2 separate regions of the Homo sapiens genome follow, and region 2 is linked to region 1. Evidence: promoter capture Hi-C in 16 types of primary human blood cells and fetal thymus (Javierre and others, 2016). All regions are on one chromosome and are shown on one strand. Each heading gives the region's core, a stretch centred on a gene start or on the middle of the fragment in contact. The rest is flanking DNA. Distances are from core to core; before and after follow the strand shown. Region 1 holds the start of C2CD2 (C2 calcium dependent domain containing 2). Region 2 overlaps UMODL1 (uromodulin like 1).

Region 1 (4,170 bases), core at 1,119-3,618:
CAAAACTTTCAAATATTTCTTTCAGTGTTCTCAGATTGACTTGACCAGCCTAAGACAGATGCCAGGGACATCCTCTTCTCTGCCTCTCAACACTTCAGTCAGATGGGAATATGGAAGGATCATATCCAAGAGGATCATATTTTCTGAAGCCAATCCATAGATGTCAGGAAACGAACCATCCCAAATATACAGGAGGTAGGGTCACTGCCTCTAAGCCTGAAACTCCAGAGTTAGAAGCTGAACTTAAAGGTCATTCACCCAACACTTGCCTGCCTCCTACAAAGGACACAGATGAGACTGGTGCCCAATCAAGCCACCAGCCTGGAGGGGACTCAGCCTCAGAAGCCTTGATTCCAGGTCAGTCAGGGGTCAGTGATGGCAGCTTCCTGGGGAAATACCTGCATTTGCTCCTGGATGTGAGGCCAACAGGGGTGGAGGGCTCCCACAAGAGACAGCTGGTTTCCCTGAGACACTCTCCAGCTCTGGACAGCTGAGGCACAGATTCTGGGCACCAGGACAAAAGTCAGTCAACTGACCCTGAAGCCTTTTTCCTCCAAAAAGTACAGTCATTTATGTTCTTTTTCAAGAGTTCAAAACAAGGTCTCTTGATTTGTTGGATGGCTGCTAACTGATAGTCAAAGCTTTTTTGTTTTTTAATTCCATGGCCATGTCTTCCAAGGCCATGCACAAGGACCAGGCACAGGGCCCGCCATGGAATATTTTGAAGGTTGATGGGGCCGGACATTGAAAATGAGCAATTCTGCTATTTCCACAGCGAATGACCACTGAGCTGCACAGGCATGTGCAGGAAACTGTGGCCTGGAAGGGCGGAGCAGCGGCCAAGACTAGGGGTGCCTCCCCAAACCCACCCAGGCTCCAACTTCTCCTGTGAAATGCCTAAGAATAGTACATGCCAGGAGCTTGTCGTTATACTAAGATGTCTTAAAAGCAAAAATAAGTCAACGAGTAATCAGCGACTACAGAAACACCCACAGGACTGTGAGGCAGCAGAGGTAAGACACGAGGCCCTTAGCTTGCAGGCCAGGGCAGCTGGATTCACATGCCAGCTCTGCCGCCCACGAGCTGTGTGGCACTGGGCAGGCTGCTTGCCCTCTCCGGGCCTTGGTTTCCTCATCTGTAAAACAGTGATAACACCCCTGTCCCGGGAGTTGTGAGGATTCAGAGATGGCAGACGCACCGAAAGCCTCGGTAGGATGTCTGCCCAGCGGCTGGCCCTCAGCAAACGGTCACTATTTTTATATGCCAAGAAATGCAAGTCTTTGGAGATAAATTCTTGGTGAAATTCAGCTCTATGAGAGGCGGAAGCACATTGGGGTCACAGCTATTCATGTATCATGTGCAAGCTCAGTAAGTGTCCGATCGGGCACGGGAATTCGCCCCGGGACTCCAGGCAAGGCAGGTACTGGCTGGCGCGGATGAGCACTTCTGACGGTCCCTCCAACTGCCAGCCTGTCCCTCGCGGAGCCCAGGGCCTGGAGCACCTGCCGTTTGGAGAATAAAATCAATCACTTTGTCTTGTCTCTCCGTCAAGGGGCCTCGCTCCCCCGTCTCTCTCCTAACTCTCGAGGATGGTCTGCGCTGGGGGGAGGACTCCCTTAGCCTGGGTCAGGGGCTGCAGCGACGCCTCCAGGAAAGACCTCGGCCCGGACCGCCCGCCCCGGCATCTGCCGCCCCCCGGCCCGCAGTCCCGGAAACTCACCCCTTTCCTCTCGGCCTCCTCGTTCAGGGCGGTCACCCAGGCCGCCTGCCACTGGCTCCTCCAGCTGCCCAGCGTCAGGATCCAGGAGAGCAGCGCGTCGGACCCCGGGCGCGGCCCCTCTCCAGGCTCCACCGCCCGCCGCTGGGGCTGGGGTCGCGCCCTGGCCAGCGCCCACTGCGCCAGGTACAGGCCTACCGTGGCCAGGGCCGCGACGAAGAGCGACACCAGCGCGAGCCACTGCGCCTCCCCGAGCCACGAGCCCAGCCGGGCCATGGCCATGGCGCATCCCCGGCCCGCCTCGCCCCAACTTCCCCGGCAGCCCCGGGCCGGAACGGCGGACTCAGGACACGCGCTGGCTGCGGCCACAGCGCGCTGGGGGCGTGGAGGGGGCGCGGCGGGGTCGGAGCCCGGCGAGGAGCGTGGCCGGGGGCCTCTGGGCGGGCAAGCGGGGAGGAAACGCGCGGCGGCCGCGGCCCGGGCTGGGCGCAAGCCCCGCACACCTGCGGAACAGGGGCGCGAGCGGACCCCGCGGCCCGCGCTCCCGACTCGGCGTCTGGGAAGTTCCTGGGCCGCTGCGGGCCGCGCTTCCTCCTGCGCGCGCCGCCCCGGGCGTCCCGCCCGCGGCCCAGCGGTGGCCGGAGGAGGCTCTGGCCGCGGGGCGGGGCGGGGCGGGGGCGGTGCCCGAGGGAGGGGGCGCGGCCGGGCCTGCGGGGGCCGCAGTCCTCCCCCCTGCTCCCAACGCGGCGTGCCCCCGCCCCCCTAAAGGCCCGGCCTTCCCGGCCCCGCCACGTGCGCGCGTCGCCCGCCCCTCCGGCGCCTGCCCGCGGGCCGCGAGGTGACCCGGGCCTCCGGATTCATCAGCCCAACCCCGGCGGCTGCTGTGCGGCTGCTTGGCTTGGCTCGTGTGCGCGCTTGCACAAGTGCGTGTGTGTGCACATGTGTGAGTGTGCGTGTGCACAGCGCGCAGTCAGGGTGATTTCGAGGACTGCCATTTGCTCGCCAGCGAGACAGGATCCAGGCTCAGTCCTCGGAAAGTCCCTGGAAATCCGTGGCTGCCCCTGGAGCCAGGGGCTGGGCCTGCCTTAGGGGGCGTGCTTCTCAGAGGCAAGGAGGGGCTCAGCACCAGGCCCAGGCCCTGCCTTCTGTGTGGCTGTGTCATTCATTCAGTGTGCGGGTGGGGCGGGGGTGCATGTGGTGTGATGTGTGTGGCGCATGTGGTGTGATGTGTTGTGGGTGTGGTGTGTGGTGCACAGGATGGTGTGAGTGTGTATGTGTGGTGCATGGGTGTGGTGTGTGTGTAAGCGTGGTGCATGTGGTGTGGTATGTGTGTTGCGTGCCAGTGTGGTGCATGTGGTGTGTGTGATGTGTAAGCGTGGTGCATGTGGTGTGGTGCGTGTGTGGTGTGTCGGTGTGGTGCATGGGTGTGTGTACGTGTGATGTGTAAGTGCACAGCATGTGGTGTATGTGTGTGGTGTGTGGTGCACAGGATGGTGCGAGTGTGTATGGTGGTGCATGGGTGTGTATGTGTGATGTATAAGTGCAGTGTGTGTGGTGTGTGTGTGTGGTGTGTGTGTGTGATGTGTAAGCGTGGTGCATGTGGTGTGGTGCGTGTGTGGTGTCGGTGTGGTGCATGGGTGTGTGTACGTGTGATGTGTAAGTGCACAGCATGTGGTGTGTGTGTGTGGTGCATGTGGTGTGTGTGGTGTGTATGTGTGATGTGGTGTGGTGTATGTATGTGGTGTGTCAGTGTGGTGCGTGTGTGTGTGGTGCACAGGGTGATGTGAGCGTGTGTGTGTGGCACATGGGTGTGGTGTGGTGCTGTGTGTATATGTATTGTGTAAGTGCGTTGCATGTGGTGTGGTTTGTGTGTGTGGTGAACACGGTGGTGTGTGTATGTGTGGTACATGGATGTGGAGTGTGTGTATGTGTAATGTGTGAGTGCGGTGCATGTGGCGTGGTGTGTGGGTGGTGTGTCAGTGTGGTGCATGTGGTATGGTGTGTGTGTGTGTGGTGTGGTGTGTGGGACATGCCCCTGTGCCCTCCTCTTGCAGAGTGGACGCGGTCCTTAGGGAGTGCCATAGAAACATACTAGCCTGAGATTCTCCGGGGCCTAAAACAGGCCTAAACCATAAAAAAGTGATTCCCCTGTTATTTTCTGCAGCTGTATTAAGGGGACTTGACCTTGAAAGGAATTAGATAGACTGAGCATTTGGCCTTCTCTTCCCTAGCCAGGAGTCTGCTGCGGGGCCAGTGGATGGTCCATCAGAGGGGATTCTGGCCCTGAATCCGTGGGCCCGGATTTTCTTCAGGAAAGAGGAAGGAATGGCACAGCAGCTGGACGGAGAGCCTTTGTGGGGAACAGGATAGGACGCTGTCAGGGAGGTGAAATTAGACGGGGATTGCCCAGGTGAGCTGGGGATGGACCCTTGCGAGCCAGGTCTGTTATCAGA
Region 2 (4,170 bases), core at 678-3,177, 170 kb after region 1:
GTAAATGTGTGAATCTGTGTGTGCGAATGTGTATGTGTATATGCATGGCTGTGCTTATATGTACGTGCGTGTGTGTGTGCATGTGTATCGCGTGCTTGTGTGCGTGTGGGTGTGCATGCATGTATGAATGTGTGAGTGTGTGAATGTGAGAATGTGTCTATGTGCATGTGTGCATGTGTGCGTGAGTTGAGCATGTGTGGATGCGTTTGTCCATGTGTGAGTGTGTATGTATGGGTGTGTGTTTGGGGGGCATTGGATGGCATTAGTCAGAACTGCTCTGTCGGAGGGACTGTGTTCCTAGCGAACATTCTCTATTTCAGGGTCCTGGATGGGCTGTGGGGCTCCCGGGACAGAGGGAGCCCAGGTGGGGAAAGTGGGTTTTCCTGGCCTGAGGCCTTCGCACCTCTGTGTGCACAGATGGGCTCTGGCACCTCCCCTTGCAGGTGACTCTGGGCCAGTGCGTCCTGGGTCTACTCTGAGCCTCTAGTGTGTGGCACCCATGAGGTAGCTGACCTGGCTCCAGGTCCTGCTTCTTCCCAGGGTGCCTCTGTGTCACAGCGAACGCTCCCATGCAGGCCCTTGTTCGTCTCCAACCCCACTTGGCCACATGGAGCACAAAGGCTTCGTGTTCAGGGCCCTGCTTGGGGGACAAGAGGAGGGGAGAGCCAGCACCTTCCACCAGCTCAGCCTGGTACTGGACACAGGGGCCTGGGCCGCATGGGCCTGGGAGTGCAGGGTGGATCAGGGAAGCTGCCTGGAGGGGCCGGCGGCTTCAGAGGGAGCCCGTGCCGGCTCTGGGTTGGGGAAGTGGCCTTCTGGGAAGGGGCTCGACCTAGAAAGGAGGCCAGCGTCGTTCCAAGGGTGAGTGAGAGAGCTGTGAATGTATCCAAGGGCCATGCCGGGGGTGGCTAGATGAGGGAGGCTGGAAACCATGGCGGAGTTAAGAGTCTGTCCGAGTGGTTCTGGTCAGGTGGGCAGGGATGGAAGGGTGGACACTCATGGGCAGGGTGGGGTATGAGGCCTGGTGGGAAAGTGGGGCTGTGGATGGGGCTGAGCAGGGAGCAGTGCCTGGCCTAGGAGCCAGGGCCAGAAGGCTCTCCTAATGGGGACATTGTCCTCATCGGGAGCTAGGCAGGAATGGTGGTTCCTGGTCGTTGGCGGGAACTCTGGGCCCTGGGCTTCTGTCCCTCAGGACCTTTGAGCAGTCCAAGGCATTGCATTCTAAAAAAAGGGATTGGTTGGGGTGGTGCCCTGAAACCACCGTGGACCTGCTTGGCTGAGAGTTCTACATGCATGATGATGTTTAGTCCCTTAGCGACCGCATGGGTCAGGCATCATCATCCACGCTCTGCGGCTGAGCCCTGGGTGCTCGGCAGGGTCCATGGGAGTTCAGGGTCAAAGTCAACCTGACACCGAGAAGCAGCCCCGTCCCTGTGGCTCTGCCTCTTGAGGAGCCTTGAGGGGGTGCTGCTTCTGGTTGGGGGTCTGGACACACTCCTTAGTGGGGACAGGGCGGCCTCTGGCACTGGATGGGTCAAAGCTGTCAGATGAAACCCAGAGTCCTGGCATGGGGTGTCAATGTCTGGGAGCCGACAAAGTGGGAACCGGGTGGACGTCCTGAGCAGGAGGCTGGGACATGGACCTTGGGGCTGAGTAAGGAGCTAGCCCTGGGGAGCAGAGGCCAGAAAGCCCCAGGGGCTGAGGGATGAGGTGGGGAGGTGGGGCATAAGGTGATTCCATGGTGTGGAGCCTGCTTGGAGCCTGGAGCTGGGACTGAGGGTGGCCAGGAAGCTGAGGGATTCACGTGGACGCGTCGGAGGCCATTGCAGAGCACAAGCTTGCCTGGGAGGCACAGCTCACTCTGCCGAGCTCATTCCGCCCCCTCGGGGGCTCTTCAGATCCTCCCTGGGCTGAAGGAGTAACCTGCACTGTTTCAACAGCTACAAAACCTTCCTCACCCTTCAGCCCCTCAAATGGCACAACTTAAGCAGAACTGCCCAGAATTAGTTTTCTCCCTCAAAGCTTCTTAGACGGCCACCTGGAGGCCGAGCGTTGGCAGCAGGGGGGTGTCTGCAAGGGGGATGGGCGGTGATCAGTGGCTCCTGTGGCTTCTCGGCAGTTTCCCTGGTGAGGGAGGTCTGGGGTGAGAGGTGCATGTGGGCCGGGCCACAGCGGCATCCTCAAGCCTATGCAGGGCTCTTGCAGGGCTGCGGGGCCAAGTGGAGGGGCTGAGGGTGCAGGACAGCCTGCCTGGTGCTCAGATCGCCACCCACACAGCGGCAGCTCCAGTGGAGAGACAGCGCCTCCCAGGACTGGGGCCCTGGGCAGAGCCTGCAGCCGGCAGCTCCCTCTGTGTTTTTCTGAACCAGACCAATGCTTGGCTTGATTATTAAATGCAGCAGGGTTTGGGGCATGTTGAAAGAAAAGGGAATTTGTCTCTGATGACTCACCCAGTCCCTGAAATCCACAAGAGCTCTTGACGGTTTTTGACACTTGTCAAAAACTAAGTTTCCCAGAAAGACTTATTTGTGCAGCTGCCACGGAATCCCCACAGGTTCAGGTGCTGCCTCCTCTGGTCAATAGGGAATGAGCAGAGGCCGAGCCCTTAGGCTCTTAGGCAGTTTATGGTTGGGAGAATCGCCAGGATCTCGATGCTGCTGGGGAGAGGCTTTAGAGAAGAACCCCCATCCCCCCAGCACCTAGAGCCGTGGCCCACAGCAGGGCGTGGGGGGCCGGCTGGGGCCTGGGAGCTCCTCATGCTCCGCTTTGTGCTCAGAACATGACGAACACCGTGGTGAGGACCACGCTGAGGAACGACCTGTCCCAGGAGGGCATCATCCACCACCTGAAGATCCTGAGCCCCATCTACTGCGCCTTCCAGAATGACCTGCTGACATCCTCCGGCTTCACCCTGGAGTGGGGGTAAGGGAGAAATGCCCCGGCTGCCCCACAGCCACGTGCCTCCAGACCACCTGCGCTTTGAGAGTTCTTTAGGGTGTCAACCACTTAAGGACCCTTCCTTGAGATGGAATATACAAATGGGTGTGGCCTGGCTGCTCCCCAAATTTTGTTCCCTCTTCCCACTCAGGGCTAGCCAGAGAAGGCCAAATATGTCCCGTGGCCAATCCCATGGGATGGCCCCACTTCCAGTGAGCCACTGGCAGGCCGCCACCCAAGCCTCCATCAGGCACCACTTTTTCTATAATGGACCCCCCACCTTCCACTGAGTCTCCACCTATACAACTGAGGGAGGCAACCCCTGGACCAGCCAGCCCTGAATAAATGGCCTCCAAGTGCTCTCGTTTGGGGTTGAGGGGGTCTTCTCGTTCATTTGCACGTTCCTCTGGAGCTGTGTTTTAGGGGAGAAGTGGGAATGGGAGGGGCCACGATAATGCGCCTCCTGAAACATGCCTCCTGCAAGCTGCTTCCTCTTGCAGGGTTTACACCATCATCGAGGACCTCCACGGCGCTGGGAATTTTGTTACCGAAATGCAGTTGTTTATCGGAGACTCTCCCATACCTCAGAATTATAGCGTGTCTGCCAGTGACGATGTCAGGATCGAAGTGGGGCTCTACAGGCAGAAAAGCAACCTCAAGGTGGTCCTGACGGAGTGCTGGGCAACCCCGTCTAGCAACGCCCGGGACCCCATCACCTTCAGCTTCATTAACAACAGGTAGGGCTCAGGAGTGCAGGCACCCCCATCCAGCAATGCCTGGGGCTTTATTAACAATAGGTAGGGCTCAAGAATGCAGACATCCCCATCCAGCAATGCCCAGGGCTTCATTAACAATAGGTAGGGCTCAGGAGTGCAGGCACCCCTGTCCAGCAATGCCCAGGGCTTCATTAAGAACAGGTAGGGCTCAAGCAGGCACTGCCATTGCCTGGCCTTGCTGTGTGGCCAGCTCTGGGCTCTGCAGGATTTCCAGGCGAGTGCTGTCATGGACCTGGGTTTTGGGGAACAAATGAGGTGCCCGGTCCTCGACTTCCACGGAGCCTGTGGAATCTGCGAGTGTCGTCAGATGTAGTCGTGAGTAAACTCATCTGAGAACAAGGACAGCGGGGCTCGCTGACAAGCAAGGAGTCCCATTTCCTCTCTTCTCAGCTGCCCTGTGCCCAACACATACACCAACGTGATTGAGAACGGCAACTCCAATAAGGCCCAGTTCAAG

Evidence for each region. Contacts are between HindIII fragments. The CHiCAGO score rates a contact against its expected background, and 5 or more counts as called.
Region 2: a contact is called between a fragment that was not itself captured here and the fragment with the promoter of C2CD2 in region 1, in 10 of 17 cell types (M1 macrophages, M0 macrophages, M2 macrophages and 7 more). The highest score is 9.4, in M1 macrophages.

The regions. Positions count from the first base shown.
Region 1 is chr21:41,951,650-41,955,819 of GRCh38, forward strand. It overlaps C2CD2 (C2 calcium dependent domain containing 2), which reads right to left and starts at 2,369. Exons shown (of 14, transcript NM_015500.2): 1 at 1,721-2,369. The coding sequence starts at 1,999. RefSeq lists an enhancer at 1,341-2,115 and a silencer at 1,992-2,661. The HindIII fragment of the contact is 8,952 bases long and covers 640-4,170 here.
Region 2 is chr21:42,123,569-42,127,738 of GRCh38, forward strand. UMODL1 (uromodulin like 1) reads left to right here. Exons shown (of 23, transcript NM_001004416.3): 18 at 2,777-2,922; 19 at 3,438-3,674; 20 at 4,104-4,170. Among named protein-coding and RNA genes, the nearest start is that of UMODL1-AS1, 17 kb to the left of the region's middle. RefSeq lists enhancers at 1,185-1,958, 1,959-2,730. The HindIII fragment of the contact is 185 bases long and covers 1,836-2,020 here.